Regions from separate parts of the Homo sapiens genome. Here region 2 is linked to region 1. Evidence: promoter capture Hi-C in human tissues and cell types (Jung and others, 2019). All regions are on one chromosome and are shown on one strand. Each heading gives the region's core, a stretch centred on a gene start or on the middle of the fragment in contact. The rest is flanking DNA. Distances are from core to core; before and after follow the strand shown. Region 1 holds the start of DPT (dermatopontin). Region 2 overlaps NME7 (NME/NM23 family member 7).

Region 1 (6,062 bases), core at 3,424-5,923:
GGAGACAAAACAAGAAACAAATGCCAATCAGGTAGTGACAAGGGCATTGTAGGAAACAAAGCAGGCTGAGGGAGTGGAGACAGCGAGATGTGTGGGGAGAGGAGGTGGTCTTGGAAAGCATCCCCGAGGAAGTGGGCCCTGTGAGTACTCAATACTCAGAACCATGACTCAGGACGACTGCCCTGAACTACACTGAGGCTTGGTCTTGCTTAGATTAGGGAAATAGTCCGACCATGGAAAACGGAGTTCCCACCCAACCTCTCCACCTTCAAATGCACCTCGATGCTGCCATAGCCCTGTTGCATAGATTCTTTCTCCTCTTCTCCAGTCTGTGGCTTGTCATTGAATTCATAAACTCAGCTCTAACACAAACTGCCACTCCAAAACTTCTCCTTGAGATTCTTTGAAGCCCGGGGTAAAAAGTAGATACCAATAAATGGACCACTTTTCCTCTGAACTCAGACTCCGTGGAAAGCTGGCTTGCCCAACATCAGCCACATCAATTTCAGATTCACTAAACTTTTACTACCTGCCCATGATGTGCTAGGCATTTGTTTTAGACTTCAATTTGCTTTAGAGTTTTCTTATACTTTATCCTACAAGTATCACAGTAACACAAGTAGCAGCTTGTGAGGTGGGAGTCACACCTTCCTTTTTCTTCCTTTGCTTTTCTTTCCTTTCCATTCCTTTCCTTTCCTTTCCTTTCCTTTCCTTTCCTTTCTCTTTCCCTTCCTTTCTTCCTTCCTTCTTTCCTTCCTTCCTTCAATCCTTCCTTCCTCCCTCCCTCCCTTCCTTCTCTCTCTCTCTTTCTTTCTTTCTTCTCTTTCTTTTTTGCCAGAATGAGATACCGAATGTCACAGATACAAGCAGGAGCTGTGAATCCAGGTTTCCTGCATCCAAGCCCAGGGCTCCTTCCGCTACACAGTAGCTCAATCTCACTAGAAAATTTCACCTTCATCTTATTCCACACAGGACCCAGTGCCCTACAGCCTGTGCTGACCCAAGTTAGAGCAGATTCCCTGAGAACAACCTAGGCATGCCCTGGGATGGTGAAATACCACTCATGGGGACCCAGGTAAGGCCTCCTGGTAGTTGTTAGTGCCAGAGACCATCATCCAAACTTCAGAAGCCGGCACTTGAAGAGGTGATTTTCAACAGAGAAACTGTGATCAATGGCAGCACCACAGACCACTCAGCTATGATGGCAACACCTTTTAAAGATGGCACTTTGATTAGAAAGATTTTCTTTTTAGCAGATCCTATGTGCTATTGTCAAGCCTATATTCGAGACTCCTCCCCTCTTTTAAAATAAACCTGAAAGCTAATTTGGTTATACAAGGCAGCCCAACTGCACAAAACCATCAACAACTGTTCCCTGAGAACAGACTAAGCCTGTAGCCAACGTCAGATGTAATAGCTCCCCAGCCCATAAGCAATTTCTTTCCTTACAGATTTTTCACTGAGACTGGAGGCTGAACTCAAAGGCATAATCATTTTTAAAAGTGCTTCCAGGGTAATTCGTGTCAGTCCTGGGGCAGCTGGATCTTATTGTAAAGAAGTTGTTTTGCATGTTTGTGAGTTTTCAACCCTGTGATTAGTAGACGGGGAGAAGGAGGCAACAGAGGGTGGAAGGAGGAAAGGAAACCAAAATTACTAGACACTGCACACCCAAAAATGCCGAGTAAGAGGAGGTGGAAGAGGTATCTCGCCTATCAGCTTTTCCCTTGACTCCCATGGGCCAAATAAAATCATGTTATTTCACCTTCTTCCTCTTTTGCTTTTCTTCAAATAGTTTGGGAGTTCATGACAAACCAGTCACAGTTGGCAAGTTTAAAACTAAACATCATTTGGCTTCTCTCTCTAGCAGGGATGAACACAAAGATCAACAGAATGCAAGAAAAAGCCAAGAGTGTTTTCAGGGGTGAGCCACAGCTCTGTGGAGCCTTCAGAGATCATGCAGCCTGACTGCTCACTTTCCAAATGAGGCGGGAGACTGGAGGGCTGAGCGTCTGGGCCAAGGTCACACCACAAGTCATTAGAACCAGGATCCAGACCCAGGCCTCCTGATTCAGAGCCTAGGGCTCTTCCTCTATGGCTTGGGGAACCATGGCTGAGTGCTGCTTGACTGTGGCACAAAAAACGGCTGTTAGAAAGGAGTCGCACCCATGCGATAGTGCTCCTGAGAGGTGAGGACTGGAGGGACAGTTGTAATTAGGTCATTGCCATGCTCCACATTAGGCAGTGGGCCTGGCTGTGAGGAGTCATGGAGACAACAATCAAGGTGAGCCTGGTCTCTGAATCAGCATCTGTCAGAAGGGGTTTTGAATAACTAAATCTGCTCACCAGAGGCCATGGGGGTGGATGAGAATGGCCCACAAAGGCTGTCCAAGCAGCCTCCACAGCCCCGGCACCCTCACCTGCTGCTGCCTGTGTGAGTCCTCTCCCCACCCCTTCTACAGTCCGGCTGAGCCCCTCCACAGTCCTGGTAACCAAGTAGGGATCATCCCTCTGGGGCTGGGCTTCTGCTGTGGTCTTGCAGGTCCCCACCCTCTCCAGGAGGAAGAACTGCCCTGAATCTGGTCCTGTGGCACTGGCTCTGCTGACAGAGTCAGCTGTCGGGTGGGAGCCCACTCTGGGTGGAGGCAGCAGCCTCTCAGGAGCCCGTCACTGTGGCAAAGTACAAACTCTTTGAAGCAAAGACTCTGTGGATCCAAACCCCAGCTTTCTAGCCGAGGAAATACTGGATCTCTAGACTGCAGTTTGTCTACCTATAAATGGGATATACCCTTGTTTTGAGCATTACACGAGATGATCCACATAAAGCACTTAGCATGGAGCCTGCTCAGGGTAAGCACTCAATAAATGGTAGCTGTTGTCATTACTTAAAGGCCCGCTCTCTTTCCTGGCTCCCCCACCCATCGGTGTTTCTTCCTCTTGGATTTCCCATCATCACCTCTCTACTGGTTGTGTCCCCCAGGGTTCTATGCTTTTTCTTTTTTCTATTTTCTTTTTTTTTTTTTTTTGAGGCAGAGTCTTGCTCTGCCACCCAGGAGGGAATACAGTGGTGCGAGCATGGCTCACTGCAGCCTCGACTCCCTGGGCTCAAGTGATCCTCCTACCTTAGCCTCCTGAGTAGCTGGGACCACAGGCTGCATGCAACTACACCGGGCTAATTTTTTTTTTTCTGTAGAGATAGGGTCTGGCTGTGTTCCCTAGGCTGGTCTCGAACTCTTGATCTCAAGTGATCCTCCCTCCCCAGCCTCCCAAAGTGTTTGGGATTACAGGCGTGAGCCACCACACCTGGCCAGATTTTGTGCTTGACCCCTCCAATCCCCACTACACTAAGTACTTGTTGCCACACATCTGGGTTGCTCTACAGATAGCACATGCAGCAGCCCTCCAGGTGGGCTTCCTCCTCCCTGGACTGCCTCCTCCGTTCTCTCCTCCAAGCCTCCTAGAGTGCTGGCTCCATCTAGGCTGTTGTAAATAATCAGCCTAGCAGTCAGTGCCTACTAGGATGAGCTCCTGACCAAGCACCTGGGCTGAGACCCAGCTGAGACAATCACACCCCACAAAAAAGTACAAGCTCGAAAAAATTCCATGCCACTGCTTAAGGCAGAATGCAGTCAGGGGAAGACAGCACCTCTCTCCAAAACCCTTTAGTAAACTATTTTCCAGCAATAAAACCCACTTTAAATTCAGGCAGAGAGAAGGACCTCAGTACTCATAATTGAGAGAGCACATTTAATCAAGGCAGTAGACAGCTATTTAATTCCACTTTCTTTTGCCTAAATGTCCTTGTCCCCTCTTTTCCATTCACTTGCTCTAAATCAATAGTTCTCAAACCCTCCGTGCTGAGAGATCAATTGTTTATTTTTCTTGTTCCCAAACTACTGTGGGCCAGTACTTTTGTAAAATGGTAAAAATAAATTTCTAAAAAAGAAAAATGCCATTCCGATGGCACAGAAAGTTTTAATTTCTATAAAGTTTATTACTTTCAGTTTCTGTACATATCTTTTGGTAGTCTGGTAAGCAAGCTTCTCGCCGACCTACACCAGCCCCTGGCCCAAACTGAGAGTAGGTAGAACAGCTTCTGGAAGGAACAGAGCCACAGAGGAGTCTGTCTCCCACAGACACTCCCCATCCCAGGTTTTTGTCCTGTCATGTAGTCCGCTCAGCAGCAGCCCTGCTCCACCCAGAGCATGCAGTGGTGAGGTTTGGGGTGGGATTTGCCCAGGCTTTGGTTACTGATATTCCTTGAGAGTCTAGCAGCCCCCAGGAGGAGGGATATGCAGAGATGTTCCCAGCCCCAGTGCAGTGCAGGGACTGGCCCTTACCATTCCATGCCAGCCCTGTTGATCTCCTCCCACCAGCACTCCGTGGGTTCCCCGAGGCTCTGTGGCGTGGGCATGCAGGCGTAGTTCCATTGTCTGTCAGAACCTTCCTTCTTGCTGAAGATGCTCCTCACGGCCACTATCACCTGCCCCTGGGGACACTGGTAGCTGAAGCCTTGCCGGTTCAAATTCACCCACCCATCATCGCTGTAGTCATGATACTGCTGGTATGGGTATCCATAATCGCCATACTGGCCCCAGGCCATGGTGACTAGGGGCAGAAGTACCCAGAGAAGACTGAGGTCCATGCTGCCTGGGATTTTGGCAAACAATGTCACTCTAAGATTGCTGGTCTGACCGTTTTATATAGCTGCCGCTGACATGTGGCTTCCAGATGTGGGTGAGAAGGATCCAACTGCAGTGTGTCATTGCTTAAGCAAAACTTTTCCATGCTGAGATGTCAGCCATAAGGACATTCAGCTTGTTTTAAGGTGGAATTCTAGGAATATACCAGCAGCATGTAAGTCTAAGAAGCTCCCTGGAGAAAGAACAACTTTGTATCTAGATTATAAAAGCCAACTGCTGCTCTACCCTGTAGAAATATTCACTTGAAAAACACTGATTAGTAGCATATTTGTCCCTCACCTTTCAGCACCTCACCCCTTTCTGTCCTACCCTACCCGCTACTAGCAAACCCCTGTATTTGTTCTCCAAACTAGCCTTCCGGGCCACACAAATACCCAGACAGTGATTTCAAAATACCGAAATCATAGACTGAAGTAACAGAGCCATCTAGGATTTCTGTAAGGCTGAATGCCTGTTTTTTTTTTTAAGTTGTCAATCCAACACTTTTTAACCCTTGAGTATAAGCGCGGGTATACCAGTTTGCAGGGCTACTCTGAGAACTCATAAGTTGCATAAGGAAGTACTATGGGCCCATGGGGAGATAAGTTGGATATGATTTCTACACTTAAGCATTCTACCATGCTGCTGAAATTGGACCCAGTCAAGTCTAGAAAGTGTGCTCTGCTCTCAAAATGTAATGGGTTTAATCTAAATAAACCCCCTATTTATCCTTCAGTATTTTTGCCCTCACATTGAATTTTCTTTTCATTGAGTTATAATTTACATATAATTAATTCACCTTTTAAAATACATAATGTACAGTAACATAGCCAGCACCCTAATCAAGACTTAGAACAGTTCCATCAATCCAAAACATCCCCTTATATCCCTTTGCAGTCAAATCTTCCCAAACACCCAGCCATTGGTAACCACTGATTTACTTTCTGTCTCTATGGTTTTGCCTTTTCCAGAATGTCAAGTAAATGGAATCATACCACACGTAGCCTTTCATGTCCATCTTTCACTTAGCATAATGCTTTTAAGGTTCATCCATTTTAAAATTCAACATCTCATTGTATGTGTTAGTATTTTGTTTCTTGTTATTGTTGAGTAATATTCCATAGCATGGATGTACCACAGATTGTTTATACATTTACTAGTTGAAAGACATTTGGGTTGTTTCCAGTTTTTGAAAATTCATTACTTTTTATGTAATGAATTTTATATTCATTATATTTTATATAATGAATTACATAAATGTAATTATAAAGTTGATATAAACATCTATGTATAGGTTTTTGTGTGAACAAATTTTTATTTCATTTGGGTCAATACCTAGGAGTGAGATTGCTGGTTCACAAGGTAATGTATGTTTAACTTTAA
Region 2 (6,308 bases), core at 1,802-4,301, 520 kb after region 1:
GATCAATGGAACAGAACAAAAAAATCCCAAAATAGAACCACACAAATATGTCCAACTGATTTTTTACAAAAGTGCAAAAGCAATTCAAATTAGAGAGATAACTTTTCAACAAACTCAGTAAAGTTAGGAAATAAAGTCTCCAAGAAAAAAGAGTTACTTCCCAGAAGGAAGTCTACACAATGAAAGGATAACACAAATTTGGGGAAACAGCTAGTTTTTTCTCATCTATACATGGTGTAAGCTAGTCACATATTATTACACATAATCCTCACAACGCTGCTATGGACTGAATATTTGTGACCCTCTGAAATTAAGATCCTAACTCCCAATGTGATAAAGGTAGGGCCTTTGTGGGGAAGAGGTGATTAGATAGCAAGAACAAAGCCCATGTGAATGGCATTAGTGCCCTTATAAAAGAAGCTCCAGAGAGTTCTCTTGCCTCTTTCACCATGTAAAGGCACAGTGAGAAGGTGTCATCTATGAAGAAAACCATGGGCCCTGACCTGAAACTGAACCTGCAGGACCTGATCTTGGACTTCCCACTATGGAGAACTGTGGGAAATACATGTTTGTTGTTTAAGACATCCAGTCTATGGTATTTATATTGTAGCAGCTCAAATGAACTAAGATAATGCCTATGAGGAAAGTACTAGTATAATCTTCATTTTATAGATGTTGAGTATCTATATTCAAGGATTAAACAATATGCCTTAATAACTAGTAAGTGATAGAACTGAATTTCAAACCCAGTTTTGCTTGCCCCAGAGCCTAAGATTATATTATAATAAAATAAATAATCAAAATATTTAGTTGGCATATGTATGTACCTCAATTAAATAATTTATGTATATGCAAAAATATACATATGTGTATATATGTGTATATACAGCTATGAAACATCTGTTTGATCTTCTGAATATATACTATAAAATCTTTAACAGAGATGGTTATAGAATGTATATGTAGTAAATTCTGAATTGTTCAGAGGATCATCACTTAACTTACTGATTATTCAGACTTTAAGATTTCTTTCCTTCTTACCATTCTGATTCTTATCAATTTGGCAGAAAAAGGAGGAAAAAAAGATCACTTTATTGTTTATTAATAGTTCTAGAAAACTGCTTAATAGAGAGAACATCATTAAAAATTAAGTTGTTGGCCAGGTGCGGTGGCTCACGCCTGTAATCCCAGCACTTTGGGAGGCCAAAGGTGGGAGGATGATGAGATCAGGAGATCGAGACCATCCTGGCTAACACGGTGAAACCTCATCTCTACTAAACAAAATACAAAAAATTAGCTGGGCATGGTGGTGGGTGCCAGTAGTCCCAGCTACTCGGGAGGCTGAGGAAGGAGGATGGCGTGAACCTGGGAGGCGGAGCTTTCAGTGAGCCGAGATTGCACCACTGCACTCCAGCCTGGACCACAGACTGAGACTCCATCTCAAAAAAAAAAAAAAAAAAAATTAAGTTGTTAAAAAGTAGATGCATAGTATTCTTCAAAATTCTAACAAAATTGGTTTTCATAGTTAATAATCTAATAGTTTTATTTTGCCACATGTATCTATATCAAAAATATTTCTTGTGAAAATAACTTATTCTGATGTTAAGGTCTTTCCTGGCATCAATATTTTCCCTTGATATCACAATATCTACCACCTGGGTGCGGTGGCTCATGCCTGTAATCCTAGCACTTTGGGAGGACAAGGTGGGTGGATCACTTGAGGTCCTGAGTTCAAGCCCAGCCTGGCCAACATGGAGAAACCCTATCTCTACTAAAAATACAAAAATTAGCCAGACATAGTGCCACATGCCTGTAATCCCAGCTACCTGGGAGGCTGAGGCACAAGAATCGCTTGAACCCAGGAGGCAGAGCTTACAGTGAGCCAAGATTATGCCACTGTCCTCCAGCCTGGGTGACAGAACAAGATTCTGTCTCAGAACAACAACAACAAAAATAAAACAAATAAACAGAAAATCATAGTATCTATCATCTATAATATACCTCACAGCAATCTTGCAGCCAATGAGCCCCTTACACTGTAGAAACACTTGAAAAATATCGTTACCATGAATGTTAAACTTACTGGATGTAACAGCAAGATACAGATGACAACAAAACCCTACTCACGAGCATGAGAGCCCATGAAAAGGACACTTTGGTGAGCAAAACAACTTACAAAACTGAAATTTAAAGAAGCGACCAGGCTGTTGTACAAGATAATTCACTATCACCTGTATGCTTTGCTTCACAATCCATATAATAAACAGGGGTGGTGGGAAATAAAACGAAACGATTTTTAAAAATGAAAAAATGTCAACAAGGAAATCTTGCAGTTTATTTTGGAAAGAAACTGAAAGAAAAGTTTTAATCGTGATGTAGCCAAGAGTACACGAACTAATAAAACTGGTGCCTAAAATAGACATGTTTAATATTAATAACCATAACCAATTTAAATCAAATTGGAAGGATATGATTTCCTTTAAAATTTAAATCTAGTGAAATAAAATTCAAAGCCATTTTAACTAAAAAATAGACGTGTATCTTTAAAACATGATTAGTGTAAAGACAAATCAAAAAACTAGAGATTATGAGAGTTTAATGTTCAATGCTAACATATAAAAGAAATCACAAGTGTTACTAAAGTCAACAGAAGGAATTTAATACTAATCTTGGCAAACATGCATAACAAATAACCTTAGGCATAAAAACCAGGTGGAAAAGCTTTCTGTCTCCTAGAGAGCAATATGTTACTAGGCAATACCACTTCACTGATAATCTTCCTGTAATTTTTAATGGAAGCACTCAGATTGGTTTAAGCTACAAATGTCTATGGTTTTCTGCCTTGCAATAAGGAAAAATATTGTAGAATTATATTAAATCAATTGCAGACAAGAGTCTGGATTCCAGACCATCCTGGGCAACATGGTAAAACTTCATGTCTACAAAAAATATGAAAAAAAAAATTAGCCAGGTATGATGGTGTGTGCCTGTAGTCCCAGATACTCAGGAGGCTAAGGTGGGAGGATCACTAGGGCTCAGGAGGCCAAGGTTGCAGTGAGCTGAGATGGCACAACTGCAATCCAGCCTGGGTGACAGAGCGAGACCGTGTCTCAAAAAAGTAAAAACAAATCAAAATAAATAAGAGTTTGGATTCCACAGAATTGTTAAATTGGGAACCAGTAAGGCACTTAGGTCTTAATGGATCTCAAATTAATCCATCAGGTGATCATAAAACCCACATTAGTAGAAAGTAGCTTTTAAAAGACAGATTTAATTCATCCAATAGATTTCTGATCCTCCACTAACACCACATACCCAAATCTGAAATTCACATTTTTCCTTACCAATTTCCTAACAAGAACAAGCTGTACATTCCTTACAAGGTAGTAAAAAGAGTAACCAATAGAACTTTATTTTATTTGTATTTTTTTTTAGAGGTGGGGCCTTGCTATGTTACTCAAGCTGGACTTGAACTCCTGGGCTTAAGTGATTCAACTACCTCAGCCTCCCAAGCAGCTAGGACTACAGGCATGTGCCACCATGCCCAGCTAATTATTAAAAATTATTTGTAGAGACAGGGTCTCACTGTTGCCCAGACTGGTATCAAACTCCTGGCCTGAAGTGATCTTCCCACCTGAGCCTCCCAAAGTGCTGGGATTACAGGCATAAGCCACTGCATCTGGTCCAGTATAACAACACCTTTGTAGATATACCTACAATATGGTGACTTTGTGTACTGAAATTCATCAAGATGCAATTAAGTGAGTAGAAAATAATAAAAACAGGCTCCATACCATCATAGGGACAGCAGAGAAGACCTATGGGAATGAAGATTTCCAGGAAAGAGTAGTCAGGGGTTCCTCCTCACTGTGAAGAAAGACAGGCTCAGCATGCAAAGGAAGCTAAGAACAGCTATACCTTGGTTGAAATAAGATCACAGTTTTAAAACAAGGACAGTCTAAGAAAAACAAAATAAAGTACGGTACTGAGTAGATAGGCTGGAAACTGAAAACTGTGTAAGATTGGGTAAATAGGTCATATGAAGTCTAAAGTCAAAGTCAGGTTAATACAGAAAAGTTAACCACACAATCACAAAGTAAAATTAAGTTTCTACAGCACAGGGTACTGCCAGCTATGGATAGAGTGAGCTGCTTCCTAATCTTAAGAGGCCAGTCTCTATGTGGTTGGAGTAAGCAAATGTCCCATTAGAAGCCAAATCCATGTTTCTAGGAGATTTTCATGAATGTTATTATGCAGGGGCTATTCTCATTATATGAAAATCTCAGTTTTTAAAATTTTTTTATTTCAATAGTTTTTGGGGTACAAGTGGTTTTGGTCACACGGATGAATTATATAGTGGTGAAGTCTGAGATTTTAGTGCACCCATCATCCAAGTAGTGTACATTGTACCCAATAAGTAGTTTTTTAATCCCTCACCCCCCTCAACCCTCCCTCTTCTGAGTCGCCAAAGTCCATCATAGAATTCTGTATGCCTTTGCATACCCGTATCTTGGTTCCCACTTATAAGTGAGAACATACGGTTTTTGGTTTTTCCATTCCTGAGTACTTCACTTAGAATAATGGCTTCTAGCTCCATCCAAGTTACTGCAAAACACATTATTTCATTATTTTTATGGCTGAGTAGTATTCCATGGTGTATATATATCACATTTTCTTTATCCACTCATTCGTTAATGGACACTTAGATTGGTTCCATACGTTTGCAACTGTGAATTGTGTTGCAATAAACATATGCGTGCAAGTGTCTTTAATATAATCACTTATTTTCCTTTGGGTAGATACTGAGTAGTGGGATTGCTGAATCAAATGACAGATCTACTTTTAGTTCTTTAAGAAATCTCCATATTGTTTTTTATACAGTTTGTACTAATTTACATTCCTACCAGCAGTGTATAGGTGTTCCCTTTTCACCACATCTATGCCAACATCTATTATTTTTTGACTTTTTAATAATGGCTATTTTTGCAGGAGTAAGGCAGTATCTCATTGTATTTTTAATTTGCATATTCCTGATGATCAGTGATGTTTAGCATTTTTCATATGTTCTTTACCATTCTTATATCCTCTTTTGAGAAATGTCTATTCATGTTATTTGCCCACATTTTGATGGGATTTTTTTTTCTTGTTGATGTACTTGAGTTCATTGTAGATTCTAGATATTAGTCCTTTGCTAGATGTATAGTTTGCAGATATTTTCTCCCACTCTGTGGGTTGTCTATTTATTCTGATAGTTATTTCTTTTAATGTACTGAAGTTTCTTTTATTTAATTAGGTCCTATTTATTTATTTTTATTTTAGTTGCATTTGCTTTTGGGGTCCTACTCACGAATTATTTGCCTAAGCCAATGTCCAGAATAGTTTTTCCTAGGTTATCTTCTATAATTTTTATAGTTTCATGTCTTAGATTTACATCTTTGAACCATCTTGAGATGATTTTTGTATAAGGTAAGGGATAAGCATCCAGTTTCATTCTTCTACATGTGGTTATCCAGTTTTCCCAGCATTATTTATTAAATAAGGTGTCCTTTCCTCAGCCTGTGTTTCTCTATGCTTTGTTGAAGATCAGTTGGTTGTAAGTATTTGGCTTTATTTCTGGGTTCTCTATTCTGTTCCACTGCTCTATGTGCCTACTTTTATACCAGCACTATTTTTGTAACTACAGCCTTGTGGCAAACATCTGATAATGTGATGCCTCTACGTCTGTTTTCTTGTTTGTTTGTTTTTTTGCATAGGATTGCTTTGGCTATTCAGGTTCTTTTTCTGGTTTCATATGAATTTTAGAATTGTTTTTTCTAATTCTGTGAAAAATGATGTTGGTATTTTGATAGGAATTGCACTGAATCAGTGGATTGCTTTGGGTAGTATGGTCATTTTCATGATATTGATTATTCCAATCCATGAGCATGGGATGTGTTTCCATTTGTTTGTGTCATCTATGATTTCTATCAGCAGTGTTTTGTAGTTCTCCTTGTAGAGATCTTTTACCTCCTTGGTTAAATATATTCCTAGGTAATTTATTTTTTTCCAGCTGTTGTGAAAAGGACTGAGTTCTTGATCTGATTCTCAGCATGGTCATTGTTGGTGTATAGCACTGCTACTGATTTGTGTATATTGATTTTGTGACCTGAGACTACGGAATTCATTTGTCAAATCCAGGAGTCTTTTGGAGGAGTATTTAGGGTTTTCTAGGTATACAGTCATATTATTCATGAACAGCAATAGCTTGATGTCCTCTTTTTCAATTTGGATGCCCTTTGTTTCTTATCCTTGCCTGATTGCTCTGGTTA

What was found. The method cuts DNA at HindIII sites, captures the fragments that hold promoters and counts their contacts. A contact is called where the count stands out against the background at its distance.
Region 2: a fragment that was not itself captured here is called in contact with the fragment with the promoter of DPT in region 1 in 1 of the 25 tissues and cell types used here (thymus).

Annotation. Positions count from the first base shown.
Region 1 is chr1:168,724,533-168,730,594 of GRCh38, forward strand. DPT (dermatopontin) reads right to left here and starts at 4,674. Exons shown (of 4, transcript NM_001937.5): 1 at 4,338-4,674. The coding sequence starts at 4,642. The HindIII fragment of the contact is 7,078 bases long and covers 2,011-6,062 here.
Region 2 is chr1:169,243,194-169,249,501 of GRCh38, forward strand. All of the region lies in intron 7 of NME7 (NME/NM23 family member 7), which reads right to left. Among named protein-coding and RNA genes, the nearest start is that of NME7, 120 kb to the right of the region's middle. The HindIII fragment of the contact is 7,360 bases long and covers 1-6,308 here.